2 separate regions of the Homo sapiens genome follow, and region 2 is linked to region 1. Evidence: promoter capture Hi-C in human tissues and cell types (Jung and others, 2019). All regions are on one chromosome and are shown on one strand. The core of a region is centred on a gene start or on the middle of the fragment in contact, and the rest is flanking DNA. Distances in the headings are between cores, read along the strand shown. Region 1 holds the start of FERMT2 (FERM domain containing kindlin 2). Region 2 overlaps ERO1A (endoplasmic reticulum oxidoreductase 1 alpha).

Region 1 (7,434 bases), core at 1,512-4,011:
AAAAAATCATAAGTCAGGGACCATCTGTATTAAAAGAGTTTCTAAACCATGACAGTTGGCTTCAACAATTTTGTCTGAAGGAAAGGGAATATTCAGAAAGGGCATAGATATTTTAGGTTCTAGAAAGGCATGTTTAGAAAGCCATAATTTTTTTGTAGCTTACTGGAGCATGTGCAAATGTCATAAGATACAATTCTTAGCTTCATTCCCAGCTCCATTTTAAATCTCTACTCCAAAATAAATAAATAAATCTCTACTCCACCCCTCTAAGCCTCCCAATCCCCACCCACCTTTTTTTTCTTGTTTTGTGCCACTTATAATGTATACTATCTCACAGTTTATGCATCCTTATACGTTGCCATAAATCTTTTGGGGGATAAAGTGGGGGAAATAAATAAGTATATTTTTAAAGTGGGGATTTTCCCATTGAGATTTGTTTTTTGTTTTTCTGCGATCAATCCAGGCTGGAGGGCAGTGGTGTGAATACAGCTCACTGCAGCCTCCACCTCCTGGGCTCAAGTGATCCTCCTGCCTCAGCCTCCCAAAGTGCTGGGATTATAGGCATGAGCCACTGTACCTGGCCCCTGAGATTTCTCCATGGAACAGACCCACTGTTTCTTTGACATTTGTGTTGGTTTGACACCAGCATGTTTTCCATTTTCTCTGTACCAAGCTATTGTGAATTTGTGGACAATGAAAATAATTTGAAATCTCTGCTCTTAAAGAACTCAAGTTTTCTTTAGAACTATTTAAAAAACACCAAAGGAAACCTCTGAAAATCCTGTCCATCGTTCAGTCAGTAGCTGCTGTATCCAGTGTCTATCATCGTGAATGTCATGGCATGTACAGAGAAACTGAAATGCTGGATGCAATTCTAGGTGGTGGTGTAAAGTTTTTGAGTTGGCAGAAAATAAAGAATAAAAGAAAGAAAAAACTTCCGTGATCTCAAGACCCAGAGAGCTTCTTAACATTTTGCTGTATTTCCTTACAGTCTTTTTCTCTGAACATTTAACGTAAATAAGCTCTTAATTTTATAGCTGCATATCCAGTTCTGCAGTTTTGTGCCCTAACAAGCAATTCCTTAATTTATTAAAAACATTTTCCTGTATATTTTCAACCCCATAATTTACATAAACTCCCTCATCTCCGGACATTCATATTGCTTTCAAGTGAACTATTTGGAACGTCCACGAGTAGAAATATTGGAGAGTAGACAGATAAGAGACTGAAGGCATCAATTTCTCCATGATAACTAGCTAAAAACACTGTAGTGGTTTTCCCTATTTTTTTTTCTGCCAAGCCTTTGGCATCTGACTAAATTTTGCTGCTTTCACTCCTTTCTGAGTTCCACCCCTTTCTTGAGGCCTCTCATCTTGTTTCCCAGTAATGTTAATGAACAAAAGGTTATCTGCCTAGCGAGTTCCTTTTCCAAGCGTTTGAGACAATTCGACAAGATTATGAGACTGCGAACTGGAGTCTTTTATCTTTAAAAGGTATTTTAATCTGAGCCTTCTTGACGTTTATTTTCTGAGCCCATGAATTTGCTAGCGAGGCAGTTTCTCTGGTTTGCTGTTTCTGAAAGGAGTTCCCTCAACAGAGTACAACAGTTAATGGGGGAAGTGGAAACAAAAGCGGGAAGCAGGAGGACCGTTCCCCATCACTAGCCAGTCTTCAACAGGTGAAGTTGTTTAGCTCTTCCTGGTACCTGCAGGCACCGTTCCAGAAGTATTAAAATCCAAGGTGTGGCTGAGGGTGGGATGGAACATGTATCTCCATCTAACAGCTTTAATAGACTGTTAGTTCTAACTTGCATATAAAAACACACAAATAAGTACAAAGAGCTGGAGAAGCTGGGGAAACAGTTTCTGAGTAAAACCTGTGGCACTAGGTTGTGTCTTTCCTTTCCCCTCAGGCAAGAGCATCATCTGTTTGACTGGCATCTGGCTGGAGCGTCCGAAGGGGTTAAGAACGCTTGCAAACTCCTGGGAGTCCAGTAGGAGTTGCTGATGGTGCCGGACATTGCTTGCAAAGCAATTTTTGTGGTTCACCTCCCTCGGGGTTTTCTTATTCTTTTGTAGGACATTCAAGGAGTTGGTTTGGGCATTTACTTTTTAAAGTTTCTCCGTCCCAGACTCCTCTCTCCAGCTCCCGGGGTGCGGCACCTCTCACCTCCCTGAGGCTTTTTGTCTCGCTGCAGGCGTGGGGAGGGGGCGAGAGGACTTTGTTCTCCGAAAACGACCTTGCCCTGGGAATTTCCTGGGGCCGTTTCTCACGGACAAGCCCCCTCTCCCTGCTGCCAGCGCGGACACACGCCGCGGGGGCCCCAGTCCAGCCTGAGCTCTAGACGCCCCGCCGGCCACCAGCGCCCCGGGAAAGGCCGCCCGCGCTCCCCCGCTCCCCCTCCTCAGGGCCCGCCGCCTAGAGCCCGGATGTTGGATTCAATTCCTGAGCCGGGTCCTTCATTTCCATAAAAGGGCAGCGCTCCGCGGGGCCGAGATTGCCGCCCCGCCGCGCCCCCCGCCACCCCCGCGCCGCCCCGCCCCACGCCGCCCCGCCCCGCCCGGGACCCGCAGCCCCCTCCCCCGAGCGCGGCGCCGGGAGGGCGGGGGCAGAGGCGAGGCCGGCCGGACCCGCTCAGGGCAGCTCTGCGGGCGGCGAAGGAGGGAGCCAGCGCGCCCAGCCCAGCCAGGCTCGGACAGAGGGGGCGGGGAGAGGGTGGAGCGCGGGGAGCCAGGCGAGGGGCCGCGACGACGGGACTCCATTAGCCGCTCCGGCCACAGGCAGCGCTTCGCCAGCCGAGGAACCGGACGCGGACACCGCCGCCCCGCGAGCCTCCAGCCCCTCGCCTGTTGCCGCGCGAGTCCCGGGCCCGGAGCGCTAGGAGCGCGCGGTGAGGGAGCGGGACCCCGCCGGGACCCGAGGGGGCGCGGCGGGGAGGGGAACGGGGAGTCAGCCCGCGCTGTGTCTCGGGGCCGGCCGGCAGGTGAAGCCCTCCGCGGTCCGCTAGGCGGGGACGGTGTGGGGCGGGCGGCGCCGGGACCGAGGAACGCTGCGGGGCGAGCGGGGCGTAGGGTCCTCCCGCAGCCCCGGCCGCCGCCGCCCTCCCGAGTTTCTGCCGAAAGCCCCGGGTCCTCCACCACCTCCCAGCCCGTGGCCGGCGCTGCGAATTCGGTGGGATTCGCCTTTCTTTGGGGGAGTGACGCTTACGAGAGCCATTTCCTCCGCGCTCGCAGGAAGGAGCCATGGCTCTGGACGGGATAAGGATGCCAGATGGCTGCTACGCGGACGGGACGTGGGAACTGAGTGTCCATGTGACGGACCTGAACCGCGATGTCACCCTGAGAGTGACCGGCGAGGTGCACATTGGAGGCGTGATGCTTAAGCTGGTGGAGAAACTCGGTGAGTAGCATCCCAGCCGCGTCCAACTAATGACTTCCCAGAATTGGTAGGGGGAGGAAAGAGGCTCACGACGGGGGAGGGGCCCATTTGAGAAATCTTGGCATCTCGCAAATGCTTTTTGGAGATGTAAAATCTTTCAGTATTTAAGCAGATAGACCTGTTCCCCTTTGCGTCTTATTTTGTTTTGCTATTCTCTGAATTTTCATATGTAATGATTCGAGCCTCCCAATTATAACCTTAATTGCGTAGTTACGCGGGACGGGGGATGTGTGCCGGGGAACTCGTTAATTCTTAACATTTACTGACAGAACGATAAAAGAATGAGGAAAGTGTGTTGGGAGGGTGATATTACAGTGTCCGTGGTTATCTATGTCTTCAGCATACCTGAATGTTAGTGACGTTTGGTATAGAGAATGATGCAAAATCCATTTAAGAAAAATCTGTGCTGGAAAATGTGCAACTACTGGCGCCAGTGTGAAGTTTCTGTGGCTGTTCTACGTGGTGGAGTGCATTAAAATGTTCCAGTCATCCACTCTTACTAGGGGTGGGGCAGTGCTTGACAAACTTGGTATCCATAGTCCATGCTCGATGTAAGCCGTTTCGAGCGTTCGGTTTTATATTAATAACAAGCCAAGGAAAGAACTTTGTGTTAAAAAGCAGACTTTGTTAAACTAATTTGAGGTTGACGGTGTTTGCTTGAGTACAAATATGTATTGGATTGATATCCGATTTAAAATAATAAGGTATCTTACAGTATGAAGTGTGTGAAGAGTGTGCAGTACACATTTTTGTGATGAATGAAACCATTTTCATCTGGAAGAGTCAGCTAAATAGATGATTTGATCATAAGAGAAATGCTCAGAGAACTATCTTCCTGAGCTTTAAAGAGCCTTTTGTACATAATACAGTTGTGATAAGATGATTATCTGTGTGGCATTGTCTTTTTAGGCTGGAATTGTTTTTTGTTTTGGTGAAGGGGGGTTGGGGACTTTCTGGGGGTTTTTTTCGTCTTTTTTTTTTTCTTTTTTTTTTTAAACACAGCATTCGTTTTCAAGCTACACTGGGAAAGTAGAGAAGTGCTTATTTGTCAGGAAATCTATTTCTTACCAAAGGATTATTGTATGTAAAGGTACTGAAATAGCACTCTGATGCATTTTGCAAAATAAGGCAGGATTCATTTGGGTGGACCTGCTTTGTACCCCTGCAGGAAGTTTTATTATTGAAGGACCAAAGTGAAGCTCCTTACAAGGTAGCCTCTTCCTTAAGACTGCATTGTTTGGCTCCCTGAGATACAGCTCAGGAAAGAAAATCCTCCTAGGTAGCCCAGTGAAAATTAGATTTTGCTGTATTGATTAACCATTTAACTGGCAGTTAACAGTATTTTTATCTGATTTGAATAAATCAGTCACTGTTTGCAAAATATGTATGAACCTTTTTTGTCCAGCTCTGGTATGAGATTATTTAAGAAGGAAAATAGCAAATATTTGGATATTTTGTTTTCAAAGAAAACAAGCATTTTTGTTAGAGCTTTTCTAATTTATGGTAAATGGACCATATTAATACATTGGTCTCAATAGGAGATATTTTTTATATTGCAAAAAAAGGAGCTGTTGAAGGTGACTGAGACAACTTGTAGTTCTCGAAAGCCAGGCTGTAGCTAATGAATAAATAATGGTTTCTATATTTATTTTGCATTGCTTAGGACTGTTTATTATAGAATCACAGTAATAAATAGAAATATAGAGAATAAACTGCAGACAGAAATGATGTTAATTTAAATGACTATAATCTTAATCTTTTAATGCTGATACATTTTTAATTTTTTATGCAGAGAAAAGAAGCCCAACAAGGTAGGAAATGCTGTGCGTATGGAAACCTTACATCTTTTCTGAACTGAATTCATACTGATTCCTCTTATATTTTGAATTCCAAATAGAAAGTGCCTCTGACTTTCCTGTTTGGTAAAAGTAGAGCTAAGTGATGCTTTTGGTTTTTAGGATTAGATGCTTTGAATGGTAAGCTATTTCGTTGCCTATCAGCAAGTAAATAGAGGAGAGATTCGGTAGGGCAGCATTTAAAACATCCACAAATCAGGCTAGTCAAATTAGAAAAGAACTTTGTAATTTTTCAGAGTTGCGTAAAACTGGAATGACCTGCCTTCTGAAGCCCTGACTTATGTCACTGAAGGTATTAAAGGGCAGACTGGATGACTACTTGCCAACAGTGGCTAGAGAGGATCAAAGCAGCTTGCAGAGTCTAGATAAAAGGTGGAGATGGTGGTAGGGATGAGATGGTACAAAGTCTGTTGTCTCAGGTTTGCAGAGCAGTGATGGAAAATTAGCAGACTTGGGCTACTGTGGCCTTGAAGCAGTTATGAACAGAAGACACCAGAGCATTCACTTACATTTTCAAACTCCAGACTGTCTGATATCCTTCTTAATCTGTTGGACGGTATATGAATACCAAAAGCATTATATTTTAAGGTGATTTTCCCAGATAATGTTCAGTAGCAGCAATTATTTCCCTGAAGTCGATAGATCTCAGGATGACCTATTCCCTCAACATTGTATTAAAATTGTGTGTGTGCACATGTGGAAGTTTCTAGGAAGAGGCTTCTTCACTTTAATTTCTCAAAGAGGTCTGTAACAAAAGAAGTCATGACACAATTTTATGGTTTGGCCCTTGTGTGTCAGGTTCATCTTGAAGCTAGGGTTCATCCCAGAGTGCGGCATTTTAATTAAGCACGACATAAGTGTAAATAATGTTTCCTTAATATGTGTCAGTAATATCTTTGTGTTTAGTTAGACTTTTATTATAAATAACGTGTACACTTTGCTTAAGGCCATTAAAACACAATTTTTAGAATTTTGACTTTAATTCAAAGATCTGAAAAGTCTCATTTATTTATTTATTTATTTATTTTTTACTTTTTGAGACGGGAGTCTCACTCTGTCGCCCAGACTGGAGTGCAGTAGCGCGATCCCGGCTCACTGCAAGCTCCGCCTCCTGGGTTCACGCCATTCTCCTGCCTCAGCCTCCCGAGTAGCTGGGACTACAGACACCCGCCACCATGCCTGGCTAATTATTTGTGTTTTTAGTAGAGACGGGGTTTCACCGTGTTAACCGGGATGGTCTTGATCTCCTAACCTCGTCATCCGCCTGCCTTGGCCTCCCAAAGTGTTGAGATTGCAGACGTGAGCCACCACGCCCATCCTAGGTCTCTTTTAAATCTCAGTATAAAACACATTTGTCATTTGCTATTAATCTTTTAAAAGAAAGCAAAAGCATATGTCATGAAGTGGGCTTTGGGGAATTATATCGTAATGTGACAAAGTTTTTGCATTTGTGACTTAGTCTAGGCTGATACTTCATAAATAATTGATCCCCTCAGTGTTTATACTTCATCCAGAAAGTGAAAAACACCCTAAAATCCAGTTTAGGTTGGGTACGGTGGCTCACATCTGTAATCCCAGCAGGCAGGGAGGCTGAGGCAGGTGGATCACCTGAGGTCAGGACTTCGAGACCAGCCTGACCAACATGGAGAAACCCCATCTCTACTAAAAATACAAAAATTAGCTGGATGTGGTGGCATGTGCCTGGAATCTCAGCTGCTTGGGAGGCTGAGGCAGGAGAATCACTTGAACCTGGGAGGCGGAGGTTGCAGTGAGCCAAAATCACACCACCCAGCCTAAGCGACAGAGCAAGACTCCGCCTCAAAAAAAAAAAGAATTGTGAAAATTTAGTACTGTTTGGTTTGGTTTGAGGCAAGGTCTTGCACTGTCACCCAGGCTGGAGTGAGTGTGTGTTCATGGCTCTTTGCATCCTCAAACTTCTGGGCTCAAGTAATCCTCTTGCCTTAGCTTCCTGAGTAGCTGGAACTACAGGCACGCACCACCACATCTTGCTGACTTTTAAAATTTTTCGTAGAGATGGGTCTTGCTTTGTTGCCCAGGCTGGTCTTGAACTCCTGGCCTCAAGCAGTCCTTCCACCTTGGCCTCCCAAAGTGTTGGGATTACAGATGTGAGCTGCCATGC
Region 2 (7,706 bases), core at 734-3,233, 280 kb after region 1:
GGTATTTGAATCCAGACTGGGCAACATAGTAAGACCCATCTCAGAAAAAAGTTATTAAAGAAAAAAACTCAGTTTCTAACGGTTTGGCGGTTCTTCAAAAACCTAAACGTAGAATTACCATATGACATAACAGTTCCTTTTCTAGGTATATACTCAAAAAAATTAAAGACAGGGACTCAAACAGATGGCAAAGCAATGTTCATTATAGCCAAAAGGTGGTAACAACCCAATTGTCCAGTACTGTTTGAATGGATAAACAAAATGTGGTATATAAAACACACAATGGAATACTATTCAGCCAGAAAAAGGAATGAAGTTCTGGTACATACTACAACACGGATGGATCTTGACAACATGCTAAGTGAAATAGGTCAGGCACCAAAGGACAAGTATAAATGATTTCACTTATATGAAATGTAAACAATGGGCAAATTCATGGAGACAGAAAGTAGATTAAAGATTATCAGAGGTTGGGGTGGGTAGGCGTTATTGCTAAAAGGTTACAGAGTTTCTGTTTGAGGTGCTGGAAAAGTTCTGGCAACAGATAGTGGTGATGGTTTCACAACACTGTGAATATAATGAATCCCACTGAATTGTATACTTAAATGTGGTTAAACTGTAAATTTTATTATATCAATTTTATTACAGTTAAAAAAACTCAGTTTCTAGAAAAAATGTACCTCTTAAGTTTTGCAGTTCTATGTAGCTTGTGGTTTATATAATTTTGTATATACATTTTGTATAAATAGCTAAAATTTAGGGATTACAAAAATCTGCTTCAGTTACATTGCTGTTGGATTGTTATGTATATTCCTTAATGATGGTCCGTGTTGCTTTTGGAGAAGTGAATATTGAACCGTTAGTCGAGTCTGTGATGTCTGAAGTTAAGCCAGAGTGCTGCTGCTGTTAAAAGCTAGGAGCCCCAGATTCATTAAAACTCTGATCGTGGCACAGTGGTTCATGCCTGTAATCCCAGCTACTCAGGAGGCTGAGGCAGGAGAATCACTTGAACCCAGGAGGCAGAGGTTGCAGTGAGCTGAGATTGTGCCATTGCACTCCAACCTGGTGACAGAGCGAGACTCCGTCTCAAAAAAACAAAAGACCAAAAAAACAACTCTGATCAAGATGTATAGATTTTCCAATTCTTCCTTTTTCTAGTATTTCCTTTTTCTAAGTTGAATTGTTAGCCTCTTAATTCACTAAAAAAAATAAATCAAATTGAGTCTTGGTATTCTTCTGTGGCTCTTTTCTAGTGGACTAACGCTCTTTCAAAAATTAGTGAAAACGGGCCTGGCTTGTTGGCTTATGCCTATAATCCCAGCACTTTGGGAGGCCAAGGAGGGAAGATTGCTGAGCCTAGCCTGGGCAACATGGCAAAACTCTGTCTCTACAAACAATACAAAAATTAGCCAGGCCTGGTGGTGTGTGCCAGTAGTCCCAGCTACTCGGGGAGTGGGAGGATTGCTTGATCCAGGGGGTTGAGGCTGGAGTGAGCTCTGATTGCACCACTGTACTCCAAGCCTAGGACAGAGTGAGACCCTTTCTCAAAACAACACAACAAAAAATTAGTGAAAACAGTGATATAAATTCTTTTAATTATAAGCCAAAGATGCAGCCTACAATCTCCATAAAAGAGAAAGTATTTTTAATTTTGTGGCTTCTTTTTGGGGAAAATTGCTTTCCTTAATGGAAACCGTAGCCATGTTTTGGTATATACTTAGTTATAATTCCTTATTTCCAATTCTAAAATCTGGAAACTCTGAAAACTGAACATTTCTCCCCCTGCGTTTAGCAGAGGCTCATTTAGTGTGAGTATATGTTTCACTGTAGAAATATTTACGTGTTTGAATAAAGATTGCTCCCCCAGGTCCAGCTGGAGTAATATGCGATATATGTTGCATGTACTGTATTACCTTTGTAAAATCTGGAAAGTTCATTCCAGCCGAGACACGCATGGTCCCAGGCATGTTGGATGAGGGGTATAGACCTATATCAAGATTTGGACTAGTGAAGGAAGGGGATAAGATGTTCTCCCAACTCCCTTATTTTGCCATCTTTTCTACAAGGATTTTTTTTTTACCTTAAATATTGTTGTGAGATAAAACTAAATTTATAGTATGCAGCTATAATTTTTTTTAGTCCTCCACTGTTAGAAAAAGGATGGTAATATTTTAACCTTAATTAACATCCTTTTGTGACTACAATGTGCAGCACCAGGTGAGAATCAATGATTCATTTCTTATATGGTAGAGTTTGGTGAATCACTTGCCCATTTGTATTAGTGTCTTCTGTTAAAAAAAGCTGAATATTTTAAAGAAAGCTTTAGCAGGAATAAATAATGGATGTAAATGGTACGTGAAATATAGAAAGTATTTTTAAAATCCTAATTGGAAATTTGAGCTTTTGTCAAAAACAGGTTCTATTCAGTGATAGAAAACAGCATATCATATAGGTTTTGCAGAACGCATGTTTTCTGCTTCTAGGGCTGGATATTGGCATTTTCCTATAAGGGCCAAATGGGCTCTTAAATGTCTTTTCTTAGATTTTACAAAACATGTTTGACTAGTTTTCTATGAAAAACTTCAGGTTCTATTCAGTGATAGGAACCAGCGCATCATAAAAATTCTTGGCACAAATATAATTATAGTAATATTTAATATAATTATAGTATTACTTCAAATATAATTGTATAATTATAATTATAATTATAGTATAATTATAAGATTTGTAATATAATAATATAGTAATATTTATTTTTTATAAGCTTGAAGAAGAATGAAGTATTTATAATAAGTAGAATTATGAGGCAACAAATGTTTATCTCTAGGTAGAATATTTAAAAATTTAATCATTTCTTGGTGGTTAGTTTTCTCAAAGTCCTGGATACTGACCGTTGTTTATGTATTTTATTTTATTTCATTTTTATTTTTATTTTTTTTCCGAGGCAGAGTTTCATTCTCGTTGCCCAGGCTGGAGTGCAATGGTGTGATCTCAGCTCACTGTAACCTCTGTCTCCCGGGTTCAAGCGATTCTCCTGCCTCAGCCTCCCGAGTAGCTGGGATTACAGGCATGCATCACCATGCCCGGCTAATTTTGTATTTTTAGTAGAGATGGGGTTTCTCCATGTTGGTCAGGCTGGTCTCGAACTCCTGACTTCATGTGATCCACCCGCCTCAGCCTCCCAAAGTTCTGGGATTACAGGCGTGAGCCACCATGCCTGGCCTGCTGTTTATATATTTTAAACATCAGGGTTTAAAAAATGAATTTATTATAATTTATATGTGGCACTTGCCTTTAGTATTAATTGAAATGAACAGTTATCCATTCCTGAACTAGATGATTCCATGCTAATTTGTTTTTTAAGTCCTTATATTTTGTTTTTCTAGTTATTTTAATTGCCACTTCTGCATTGAACTCTGCTATTTTAAGATGCCGTCATTGTACTGCTTCTAGAAGCAAATTTCCCCCTAATTTATGCTTCTAATATACTGTGAATTGGAGTAAAAAATAACCAAGCTTAGGGTTTTTTTTTGTTTTTGTGGTTTTTTTTTAATAATAAAAATAGGTATAGTTGAGAGCTTGATGGACTCTAAGCACTTTTGTGCTCATATTTTTGTTATTGACTTTGGTTGCATTGAGACCGTTTTTGTCCACTTTTTAATTCTTTGTTGGCTCATACTGTTAAGCTTTATATATGAATAAAGTATTATTATAGTACCAAATAATTTCCCAAAGCCACTGGAGGACTATGGCCCATCTTTTTTTGAGACACAGTCTCACTGTGTTGCCCAGGCTGGAGTGCCGTGGTGCAATCACGGCTCACTGCAGCCTGGACCTCCTGGGCTCAAGTGACTTTCCCACCTCAGCCTCCTGGGTAGCTGGGACCACAGGCACGTGCCATGATGCCTGGCTAATTTTTGTATTTTTTATTGATGCCTGGTGTTTCACCAGGTTGCCTGTGAATTTTAGAATCACTCCTGGGCTCAAGCAGTCTGCCCCCAGGCCTCCGAGAATGCTGGGATTACAGGCATGAACCATCGTGCCCACCCTGGGACCGACCATCTTTTTTGTTTTGAAGTTATAACACATTATAAATGATAAATAAGTAACAGGGTCTGGATTCTAGCCTGGGTGTTCTGGCTCCAGAGCCCATGCTCTGGCTGTTCTGTGATGTTGGATGTTTAGGTTGCTTCCAATTTTCCCTTTTATAAATAATGTTGACACAGAATCATGCTGCATTGTAACTTTTGCTTTTGGCCAGATTGGATCTGCTGGTGGTCATCTAAGAAGAAAGTATTTGGTAACACGCAGTGTACAATACTAACACTCCTTCATTTACTGTAGTTATTGATGAACTGCTGTGGTTAATGTGGAGGGAAATGTATGTTATATTCTTTGTCTGAATAGCTTATGATAATTGAATTACCATGTTTCTTTGATTCTAAAATTCACGTATTCCTATTTTTACAATTCCTAAATCATAATGTTTTTGTAGCCAGTGTGTACAATTAATGTGGCTGTGTGTGTTTCTCTCTCTTTTCCTTCCTTTCTTTTCTGAGACGGAGTCTCGCTCTGTCACCCAAGCTGGAGCACAGTGGCGCAATCTCGGCTCACTGCAACCTCCGCCTCCCGGGTTCAAGTGATTCTCCTGTTGCAGCCTCTCGAGTAGCTGGGACTACAGGCGTGCACCACCACGCCCGGCTAATTTTTGTATTTTTAGTAGAGACAGGGTTTCACTATGTTGGCCAGGCTGGATTCGAACTCCTGACCTCAAGTGATCCGCCCACCTTGGCCTCCCAAAGTGCTGGGATTACAGGTGTGAGGCACCACACCCGGCCTCCTTCCTTTGTTTCTCCTGAAAAGTTGTTTTAAAATTCCTGACACATTGTTATATTTGTGGTGCGTTAGAATCAATGGAATACAGTCTTGTGTAGTAGCTTTTTAAGGTAACTGAGGATAAGAAAGGTTTAATAAGACATTTTATTTTACAGACATTCAGTCCCCTGAAGCTGAATATGTAGATTTGCTTCTTAATCCTGAGCGCTACACTGGTTACAAGGGACCAGATGCTTGGAAAATATGGAATGTCATCTACGAAGAAAACTGTTTTAAGTATGTGTCATTTTCATTTAGAAAAATTCCTATAAGATGTGGTGATTTCTCTTTATAAACAAAATCATAATGATTTAAAATTAAAAATCAAATTCACTTTGTTAAAAGATGTGTTTGTACAAGGAAACATGACTATTCATTAATCCAGTTTCCTTCTGGGGAAATATATAGACGTGAGTTTCCACAGATTTTTCCTTTAGACCTTTATGGGAGTATTGTAGGCCCTTGACAAATGTTCCTTGAGTCGATTATAGGATCTCATTTTATAGTTAAGGTAACCTAGAGCTGGAGAGGTTTGCTTCATTTCCCAAGATCACACAGTGGCAGTGTAGAGAAAAGAATATACAACTCTTAATTCTCTTTTTGGTGCTCTGTACACCCTTGTCTGTGGCTTTAATTATTTTACAGTTAAATTGATTTCAGAGAACAATTATAATAGGTATCATTTTTGAGCACTCACTGTATTCTAGGCATTGTGGTAAGCATGTTATATACATTTTCTTCTTCAGTCCTTGCAATAACCCTGTGTTGCAGTCATCACTGTATTATAGACAGAGAAACTGAGACTTAGAGAGGTTAAATGATTTGTTCAGTGTCAAAGATCTAGTAAGTGAAAGAGCCCGCTTTGTACGGGGTAACCATTAGGCTGGAGGCAGTTGCTGATCACTGGGTATCTGAGAAATGCTTCAGGTTACTCACACGTAAGTCTTGAGGTGCTAAACTTTGTACTCACTGGTTTTGGGATCAATGTATGTGCGAGCACATTATGCTGTCTTAGAGATGGAGAGAGTTCTGGGAAAGTCTTTGGAGTTCCCAAATATGGGGATAATATTATATATTTCACTTTTTATAAGTCAAATATAAGTATGAGATCAGTAATTGTGCTTACACCAATAAAATGTCAGACTGTGGTGTTTTTTTTTTTGACTTGAAGAATTTCTCCAGTTTGGAAAGTAGAGAGTTTTTATTAATTACTTATTTCTGCCATGTATTTTATTTAAATTATCTTGACTATTATTAGAAATGTTTGATTTACTGACTTAAAGATTTACTTTAAAGGTTTTTTTTTTTTTTTTTTGAGATGAAGTCTCACTCTGTTGCCCAGGCTGCAGTGACGTCATCTCTGCTTACCGCAACCTCTGCCTCCCAGGTTCAAGCGATTCTCCTGCCTCAGCCTCCTGAGTAGCTGGGACTACAGGCACACGCCACCACACCCGGCTCATTTTTGTATTTTTAGTGGAGACGGGGTTTCACCATGTTGTCCAGGCTGTTCTTGAACTCCTGACCTCAGGTGATCCACCCACCTCGGCCTCCCAAAGTGCTGGGATTACAGGGGTGAGCCACCATGCCCAAAGTGCTGGGATTACAGGCATGAGCCACCACGCCCGGCCCTGTTGTTGTTATTTTTAGTGTGAATTAAGAATGGGAGGCCAAGGCGGGCGGATCACGAGGTCAGGAGATCGAGACCATCCTCACTAACGCGGTGAAACCCCGTCTCTACTAAAAATACAAAAAATTAGCCGGGCGTAGTGGTGGGCACCTGTAGTCCCAGCTACTCGAGAGGCTGAGGCAGGAGAATGGCGTGAACCCGGGAGGCGGAGCTTGCAGTGAGCCCAGATTGCACCACTGCACTCCAGCCTGGGTGACAGAGTGAGACTCCGTCTCAAAAAAAAAGAATGACTCTGTCTCAAAGAAAAATAATAAAAGAATCCATGAAGCATTTGTTAGATTTGTATTACTTTTGTAGTCATTTTCTTACTAATTTGTGTCCTGATTCCCATAATTTCTAACAATATAAACAATGTATAAAGGGCTAAGTTAATTATATTGTGTATTTTAAAATACAGCTTACATATTCTGTTCTCAAAATGTCTCCAGTTTTGCAAATTTTTAAAATAGATGTTAAAACAATCCCTATAGTTTACTATTAATACTAACGCGTATTTATTTTGGGATTTAAAAGCACTTTAATGACATAGTAACTCTCCAGAAAATTTCTGTTTTTTCCTACTGAACAAACAACTTTTATTTAAATTGTAACAAACTTAGCTACAGGGCAAATTGATGTGTCTAAAGATTACCTAAGTGGAAAATAATCTACACTATTTTTTTTCCATTTTTAAATTTTAATGCTTATATTGAATATTTTTTGCTTATTTGTCTTTCATTTAGGGGTACACTTTGTGCCATACACACACACATATACATAGATATGTATATATAATATATATAAAAACATAGTAGTGACTCCGAGAGAAGAGCTTGGCTGATATTTTCTCTTCTTTTGTTTGAAGAAGTGATTAGGAAATGGCCTGCTGGCCGCCACAATGGGAGAAGATCAGGAACTATTATCACTACAACAAATAGCCACCCTCCCTTAAAGCAATTAGAGGAAACTAAGTGTTTTATAATCTCAATAAAACAATTTGATTTTGGATATTAAGCAGTTTTCTGAGATAATATCACTTAAATATAACATGATTGGTAACATATTTGTGTTGATATTTTTAATTCTTTTTACTTCTAGGCCACAGACAATTAAAAGACCTTTAAATCCTTTGGCTTCTGGTCAAGGTAAATTACTTATTTGCGTT

Evidence for each region. Contacts are between HindIII fragments. The study calls those that stand out against the background at their distance.
Region 2: a fragment that was not itself captured here is called in contact with the fragment with the promoter of FERMT2 in region 1 in 1 of the 25 tissues and cell types used here (ovary).

The regions. Positions count from the first base shown.
Region 1 is chr14:52,946,377-52,953,810 of GRCh38, reverse strand. FERMT2 (FERM domain containing kindlin 2) reads left to right here and starts at 2,761. Exons shown (of 15, transcript NM_006832.3): 1 at 2,761-2,890; 2 at 3,234-3,399. The coding sequence starts at 3,243. RefSeq lists an enhancer at 1,484-2,062 and a silencer at 2,783-2,992. The HindIII fragment of the contact is 21,614 bases long and covers 1-7,434 here.
Region 2 is chr14:52,663,781-52,671,486 of GRCh38, reverse strand. ERO1A (endoplasmic reticulum oxidoreductase 1 alpha) reads left to right here. Exons shown (of 16, transcript NM_014584.3): 7 at 4,992-5,112; 8 at 7,640-7,686. Among named protein-coding and RNA genes, the nearest start is that of ERO1A, 28 kb to the left of the region's middle. RefSeq lists an enhancer at 7,278-7,706. The HindIII fragment of the contact is 3,237 bases long and covers 365-3,601 here.